2 separate regions of the Homo sapiens genome follow, and region 1 is linked to region 2. The links are contacts of gene promoters, found by promoter capture Hi-C in blood cells and fetal thymus (Javierre and others, 2016). All regions are on one chromosome and are shown on one strand. The core of a region is centred on a gene start or on the middle of the fragment in contact, and the rest is flanking DNA. Distances in the headings are between cores, read along the strand shown. Region 1 holds the start of PIGP (phosphatidylinositol glycan anchor biosynthesis class P). Region 2 holds the start of GET1 (guided entry of tail-anchored proteins factor 1).

Region 1 (3,408 bases), core at 682-3,181, 2.3 Mb after region 2:
CTGAGAGCAATTTTATTTCTTTAAAAAAAAAGAGTATCTGAAGTAAATTTGGCAAAAGATTAAATAATCACGTCTGTAAAATCTGAATCATGGATTGGTTAGCTCCCCCTCTGTATTTGATATCTGAAATATTCCAAAAATTAAAAGAAAAAAAGGAAAATTAGACAATAAGAAAATTGGGCAGAACAAAGACACCAAAACGCAGCCCTTGAGCGCAGAGCACGAAACCTTGAGCAATCGGAGCAGTAGCTGGGTCTCTAAGGGGTTTGAAGTTTCTTACCCTAGGTATCCTTATACTATATCCCATTTTCCTTAGGATAAATCGCAAATTTCTTGCAACAAAAAATGTCCTAACTAGAGTCGTAGTTATAAGGAAAAGGCTCTCTCCGGAGGAGTAAAATCTGTAAAATTTCTACCTTGTTTCCCTCGCCAGGATCTTGGGCAAAATGGAAAGAGATTTAGGTGAATGCCATAAAATACTCTATAAACCATTAAATATCATCAAGAACGCCTAAGGACCGCATCGCCCAGTAGGAGAGTGCATATATTTTGAAAGGTCTCTGCAACTGAGGGGGTTTTGGCGTCCAGGGCGCCACTGGAAAAGGCACGGCGCACTGGTACCAGCCCAAATTCACCTACGTCTCGGCTTCATTTTTTATCTTTGATCCCCCTATTCTGTCTCCTGAACAGGCTGGCTGAAGAGGCCACACTGGCAGCGTCAACACTGCGGAGCAGCTGGCCAGACTCGATCCTGTCCACCCCCCTTCCCATTAGCGTCTGTGGGAGAGAATGCTCAGAAAGAGGCGCGGGGGCGAGGGGAGCGGCGAGGTTACCCCCCTCCTGGGTCCGTTCCGTGGGGACAGGCCCTGGACTGGACTGCCAGTTCACACGAAAACAGGTGGCAACAGAGTCGTGACACGCACACACAGCAAGGGGTGTGCACGAACGTTCACGCTCACCAACGAAACCTGCACACAAGAGATACCCACTCGACAGAATTAAATCCGCACACAAGAGATCACGCACTCAACAGGACCCATGCGCAGACACTCTGCGTCACTCGGAGACACGCAAGGACGCACACTTGCGCGAGCAAGGCTCTAGGCGGGGGTCGCAATTGCAGAAGGCGCGGCCACGCGCGCTAGGGGACGCGCAGCCCACAGACAGGGGCAGTAACACAAAGGGGGGCCACCTGCAAGGCCGAGAGCGCCCACGCAGCCGCCAGGGAGCGCGGACACCGACACAAAAGGGGCGACGAGGCGACACGCGAGCGCCTCCACCCAGCGGAGGTGTCAGCCACGCACCGGCCGAGGCACGGGCAGCGGGGGGTTGCGCACAAAGGGACTACTCACACCCTCGCACCGGCATCCCAGGGCCTCGCTCGCGAAGGGGCACCAGACCAAGGGGGCAAACCCACTGGGGTAGGCAATGGCGGCCACACCCCCTCATCGCGCGGGACCCAACCCATGCAGACACAGTAGGCACCTCAGCGAGGGACGCGAGGAGACGCGCACACACCCACACTCACCACACACCCACGGAGGGGGTGTGGAAGGCCCCGCTCCCCCGGCATCTCGGCTGCAGCGGGACAAGGTGACACATCCGGGAGCCCGGCAGCGCGCCGGGTGTGCACTCACCCGGGCCCGCCGCCCGCGAGCCTCGGACGCGGGCAGCAGCAGCAGCAGCCGCCGCCGCCGCCGCCGCCACCTCCGGCCCTCCACGTCAGCCGACGGCGGGAGGGAGCGGGTGGCGGCGTTGAAGCGAGGTGCGTCACGTGGGCTGGCAGCGCGCGTGCGCAGTCGCACCCCACCGCCCCCTCCTTCGCCGTCGCGAGCCGCGGGATCACGCCCGCCCCCGCGCTCGCTGGCTCCCACCCGGGGAGGGTCGTTGTGCGCCTGCGCCAGGGTGGGGGTTGCCGTCGCGCCTAGGCCTTTCCCTCAGGTTTTCCTCTTCCCCACTGCGGCTCCCCAGTCGGCGCTTGCGCGGAGAACTCAGCGCTGAGGTGGCCGAGGTGTCGGGAGGGGCCTGGGTGGGCGTATGAAGGACCCGAGGTCGAGGGCCCCCCCATACCCCGCCTCGAATGAGAAATAGAAGTCTCCACGAATGGGCAGGGCCCGGGGCCTGGGCGCCGCGACCTAGTAGGCCCGCATGCTGGTGGGCGCCGCGCGAGCCTTGTTCCCTGCCCTCCCCTCCCACAGGGAGGCCACGCTTGCAGAGCTGGAGCGCGCGTCTATCGCCCCAGAACCCCCCTCCCTGCCCTATCCTCCGCCACCCCTTCTGTTGCGGGGCGCGCGCCAGCCTGGGTGTCTGTATGCGCTCGAGGCGGGGGCGCGGGTTGCGGACGGAGGCGCGGGAGGCGGTTCTGCGCGGCGGGGGCCGTACCCGCGGCGGAGCGAGGAGGCGAGAATGGATCAATGGTGCCACGGAGCACATCGCTGACGCTGATTGTGTTCCTTTTCCACAGATTGTCTAAAGCCCCAGGAAAAATGGTGGAAAATTCACCGTCGCCATTGCCAGAAAGAGCGATTTATGGCTTTGTTCTTTTCTTAAGCTCCCAATTTGGCTTCAGTAAGTACTTTCCTGATGGATGGCCAGGGGCTTTTTCTGGCGTTCAGTGACAAGGGAAGAATACATTGGTTAGACTGTGCACACATGAACTGTTGATTCTTTCTCCCTATGTCTCTTTTTAAGAAAATCTGAAGGGATCTCGTGTTTGCTGAGTGTTCCGTGTGCCAGCACTAGCCTAGGAGGTTTTAGTCTCTACAAATATTTATACAGCACCAGACGCGATGGCAAAGTGGATAAAGCCTGGTCCCTGCCCTTAAGGAGGTCGTGGTCTTGTGGAGGAGACAGATGGGTAAATCTACAGTTAATGCTCAGTGTGATGAGTGTCAGGGAGCACGGTGGAGAGACATTGAAACCAGACTGGAAAGTCAAGGCTTTCTACAGAGGCCTTTCCCCCTGGCACTGATGCTGATTAGGAAAGAGTAAGAGGGAGGGAAGAAGTGGAAAGGCCTTGAATGAGGGCGTGAGAGGGTTTGGACCCGAGGAGCTTGTGATGTCACCAGTGTGCCCTGCGGGATCTGGGGAACAGGAGAAGTAGGCCAGAGAAGTCGGGTTGAAAGGTGTGTCGTTTGCGTCCTGGATCTCCCTTAATTTAACCCCATAACATTCCATTTTACAGATAAGGAGACTGATGCTCACTAAGACACTAATATGCCCACTCACACAGCAAGTCCCAAGTCTCTCCCCAAAATGATTTGAGAATTTTGAGGCACACAAAAGGGAGAAAATTGAGTGCCCGTGATCCAACGTTCTGCAACTGTTTGGAAACCAGGAAAGTGGAGGAGTGGTAGTACTTCTGAACCCTAACTAAAATATATCAGCCTGCACCATCAGCACAGCTTG
Region 2 (3,246 bases), core at 193-2,692:
ATAATAATAATAAAGTTCTGGGATAATGGTTGCACAAAAATGTGAATGTACTTAATGCCACTGAACTGTACACCTAAAAATGATAAAGATGATAAACTTCATATTATGTGTATTTTACAATTAAAAACAAGAAGATGAGCATGGGCCAGCTCATCAGGAGTCTTTTATGCAATGCCTGAGACATCATCTTAAAGACTGGATAGCATCAGGAAAGATTCTGAAGGAGACTCAGGGGTTAAAAGAGAATTCCCTATATCTCAGGACAATGCAGACAGTAGGACAATTGAGAGAGTAAGAATAGAGTTTTGCACAAAACAGGCACTCAATGAATACTGGTGGAATAAAATATCCTCCACTACTACCAATTTATCTTAGGAGAGAAAAGCAAGAACTGTTTTCCAAGACAACGCTGAAACGAATGCGCCCAATCTTTGAGGACTCCGCCTTTGCCCAACAGCTCCTCATTTCTGCTGTGGGCATACGGAGGGCGCTCATTCTCGGGGACAGTTCCCAAGGTACCCCCGCCTTCCATGGCCACACCCCACCACGCCCTGTCCAATTTGCCACCAAATCCCTATCCCTGCTCCAAAAGGCAATCAAATCTCCACCTCCAGTCACTAGGTGGATGACTTAGTGCCACCACTAAATTCTCTTGAGCCAGACTCCTCCGGGAGGTAAAGGAGGGTGGGATGATAATACTCGCCTCTCCCAGCAGCCGTGAGACAGAGGTAATGTACTCACTACCTGGCAGAAAGAGAGTGTTCCCCAACCTGGTTGCTCCCTTGGATACTGAAGGCATCACGCTGTACTGAGATTCTCTCTACACCTGTCTCCCACCCTACCCACCCCAAGAATGTGGGCTCCTGGACGCGAGGATCCATCTCTCCGGGACCTGGAACAGCTGACTTCGCCCGCCAGGCCTCTGGGAAACCCTGGCCGAGGGCTGCTCGAATGCCTCTAGGAACCAGGATTAACGGAAACGAGGCTGACAGCGGGGCACTAGGAACTCCCAGTGTGAGGTTCGCCGCCGCCACCCACAGCCAGAAGAGTCCAGGGTTGCCCGGTGTTTCTCCCAACCCCCTAGAACCCAGAAAGTCTGATTTTGGGGTAAAGCGTCGTACCTTTTAGACGCTAACAACTATCTCAAAAAAGCTTACGGACCAACCAAGACGCTACTACGGCCTTCAGTCGCCCAGTTGAGACCCCTGTACCTACGCCAGACCCGCCGGGGGACTGGGGCGGCATCCCCACCGGCCCTTGGGAGGCCAGGCAGCCACTTACGAAGGATGAGAAGGACGGGAGGAGGATCCTAAGAACATTGCATCCAAACACGAAGCTGAGCACCAGCAACCACGCCCAGTGGTCGGCCGCGGCTGAGCTCATCCCGGACGCTCCTGGCTGTGCTGGGTCCGCTACGGCAGCTCCATGGGGACCACAACAACAGCGGCGACCGCGCCTGCGCGGTGAAGCCAAGCGCCCCAGAACAGGCGCGCCGACGCGCCTGCGAACTGCGTCGCCCTCGCGGGAGGCGGGGCCGTTTTTTCGTCCGGCTCCAGTTGGAGCGGTTAACACGTTCCGGGTTTCTCCTGGGCCTTCGGCGGTTCCGTAGCCTTCTAGCACCCATCCCTACTGAACCAGTTTTCTGACGTCCGTGTTTCTTTTTTTCCTTCTTTTTAAAATTAAAAACCTTCTCATAGTACCAAACTCTGGTTTCAAGTGCTAACGACTCCCTGCTTTTGTCATAATTAGTACTTTCTTTAAATTAACTTTTAATTCTAGATAAGTTTAAGAAAAACTCTTCCATAAATAGAAAACTACCGTTTTTATAGTAGCAGGTAACTGTCGTGTTCCAAGCAGTTACATGGAAAATGCCTTACGTTTTCGTTCCAGATCTAAACACTGTAGTAAGTCTAACCAATTTACACAACTGCATACCTGAAAAATAAGTTTAATAGAATGCACTGTTCACAATCATTAGTAATAGTTAATAAATTAACCTGAATCTAGGTGAAGATCAGGTTTTGCAGCGAAAGAATCCCAACTCAAATGTATGCAAAGTGAGCAGGGCGAGGTGGCTCACGCCTGTAATCCCAGCACTTTGAGAGGCCGAGGCGGGCAGGTCATGAGGTCAAGAGATTGAAACCAGCCTGGCCAACATGGTGAAACCCCGTCTCTACGATACAAAAATTAGCCGGGCGTGGTGGCGCGCGCCTGTAGTCCCAGCTACTCCGGAGGCTGAGGCAGGAGAATCGCTTGAACCCGGAAGACGGAGGTTGCAGTTAGCCAAGATCGCGCCACTGCACTCCAGCTCTGGCGACAGAGCGAGACTCCGTCTCAAAAAAAAAAAAAAGTATGCCTAGTGGATAAAGCAAGACATGTTCAACTGTCTCTTCTGCCATGCTGCCATGACTGGTTTCTGAGGACTAATTCCTAATCAAAATGATGCAAGATTGCGGGTACACTGGCTCACGCCTGTAATCCCAGCACTTTGGGAGATCCAAGCAAGGTGGATCACAGGCCCAGGAGTTTGAAACCAGTCTGGGTAACATAGTGAGATCCCCATCTCTACAATAAAATATAAAAATTAGCCGGGCACTGTGGCACGTGCCTGTGGCCTCAGCTACTAGGGAGGCTGAGATGAGAGGATCGCCTGAGCCTGGGAGGTCGAGGCTGCAGTGAGCTGTGATCACACCACTGGACTCCAGCCTGGGCGACAGAGCACAACTCTGGCTCATTATTATGAACCAGTTAAAATAATTATGCGGCTGGGCACAGTGGCTCAAGCCTGTAATCCCAGCACTCTGGGAAGCCGAGGCAGGTGGACCACCTAAGGTCAGGAGTTCGAGACCAGCCTGACCAACATGGCAAAACCCTGTCTCTATTAAAAATACAAAAATTAGCTGGGTGTGGTGGCGGGCACCTGTAGTCCCAGCTACTCAGGAGGCAGAAGAAGGAGAATCGCTTGAACCTGGGAGGCGGAGGTTGCAGTGAGTTGAGATCGCACCATTGCACTCCAGCCTGGGTGACAAGAGTGAAACTCTGTCAAGAAAGAAAGAAAGAGAGAAAGAGAAAGAGAAAAAGAAAGAAAGAAAGAAAGAAAGAGAGAGAGAGAGACAGAAAGAAAGAAAGAAAGAAAGAAAGAAAGAAAGAAAGAAAGAAAGAAAGAAAGAAAGAAAGAAAGAAAGGGAAAGGAAAGGAAAGAAAGAGAGAAAGAAAGAGAAAAAGAAAAAGAAAAGAAAAGAAAGA

The links. Contacts are between HindIII fragments. The CHiCAGO score rates a contact against its expected background, and 5 or more counts as called.
Region 1: the fragment with the promoter of PIGP here is called in contact with the fragment with the promoter of GET1 in region 2 in 1 of 17 cell types (monocytes); the score reaches 5.8 in monocytes.

Annotation. Positions count from the first base shown.
Region 1 is chr21:37,071,594-37,075,001 of GRCh38, reverse strand. It overlaps PIGP (phosphatidylinositol glycan anchor biosynthesis class P), which reads left to right and starts at 1,931. Exons shown (of 5, transcript NM_153682.3): 1 at 1,931-2,002; 2 at 2,465-2,568. The coding sequence starts at 2,487. It overlaps TTC3 (tetratricopeptide repeat domain 3), which reads right to left and starts at 1,748. Exons shown (of 46, transcript NM_001330683.2): 1 at 1,529-1,748. RefSeq lists silencers at 1,341-1,400, 1,621-1,940, 2,181-2,460 and an enhancer at 1,739-2,033. The HindIII fragment of the contact is 9,103 bases long and covers 1-3,408 here.
Region 2 is chr21:39,378,522-39,381,767 of GRCh38, reverse strand. It overlaps GET1 (guided entry of tail-anchored proteins factor 1), which reads right to left and starts at 1,442. Exons shown (of 5, transcript NM_004627.6): 1 at 1,282-1,442. The coding sequence starts at 1,383. It overlaps GET1-SH3BGR (GET1-SH3BGR readthrough), which reads right to left and starts at 1,442. Exons shown (of 14, transcript NR_146618.2): 1 at 1,282-1,442. The HindIII fragment of the contact is 3,691 bases long and covers 1,155-3,246 here.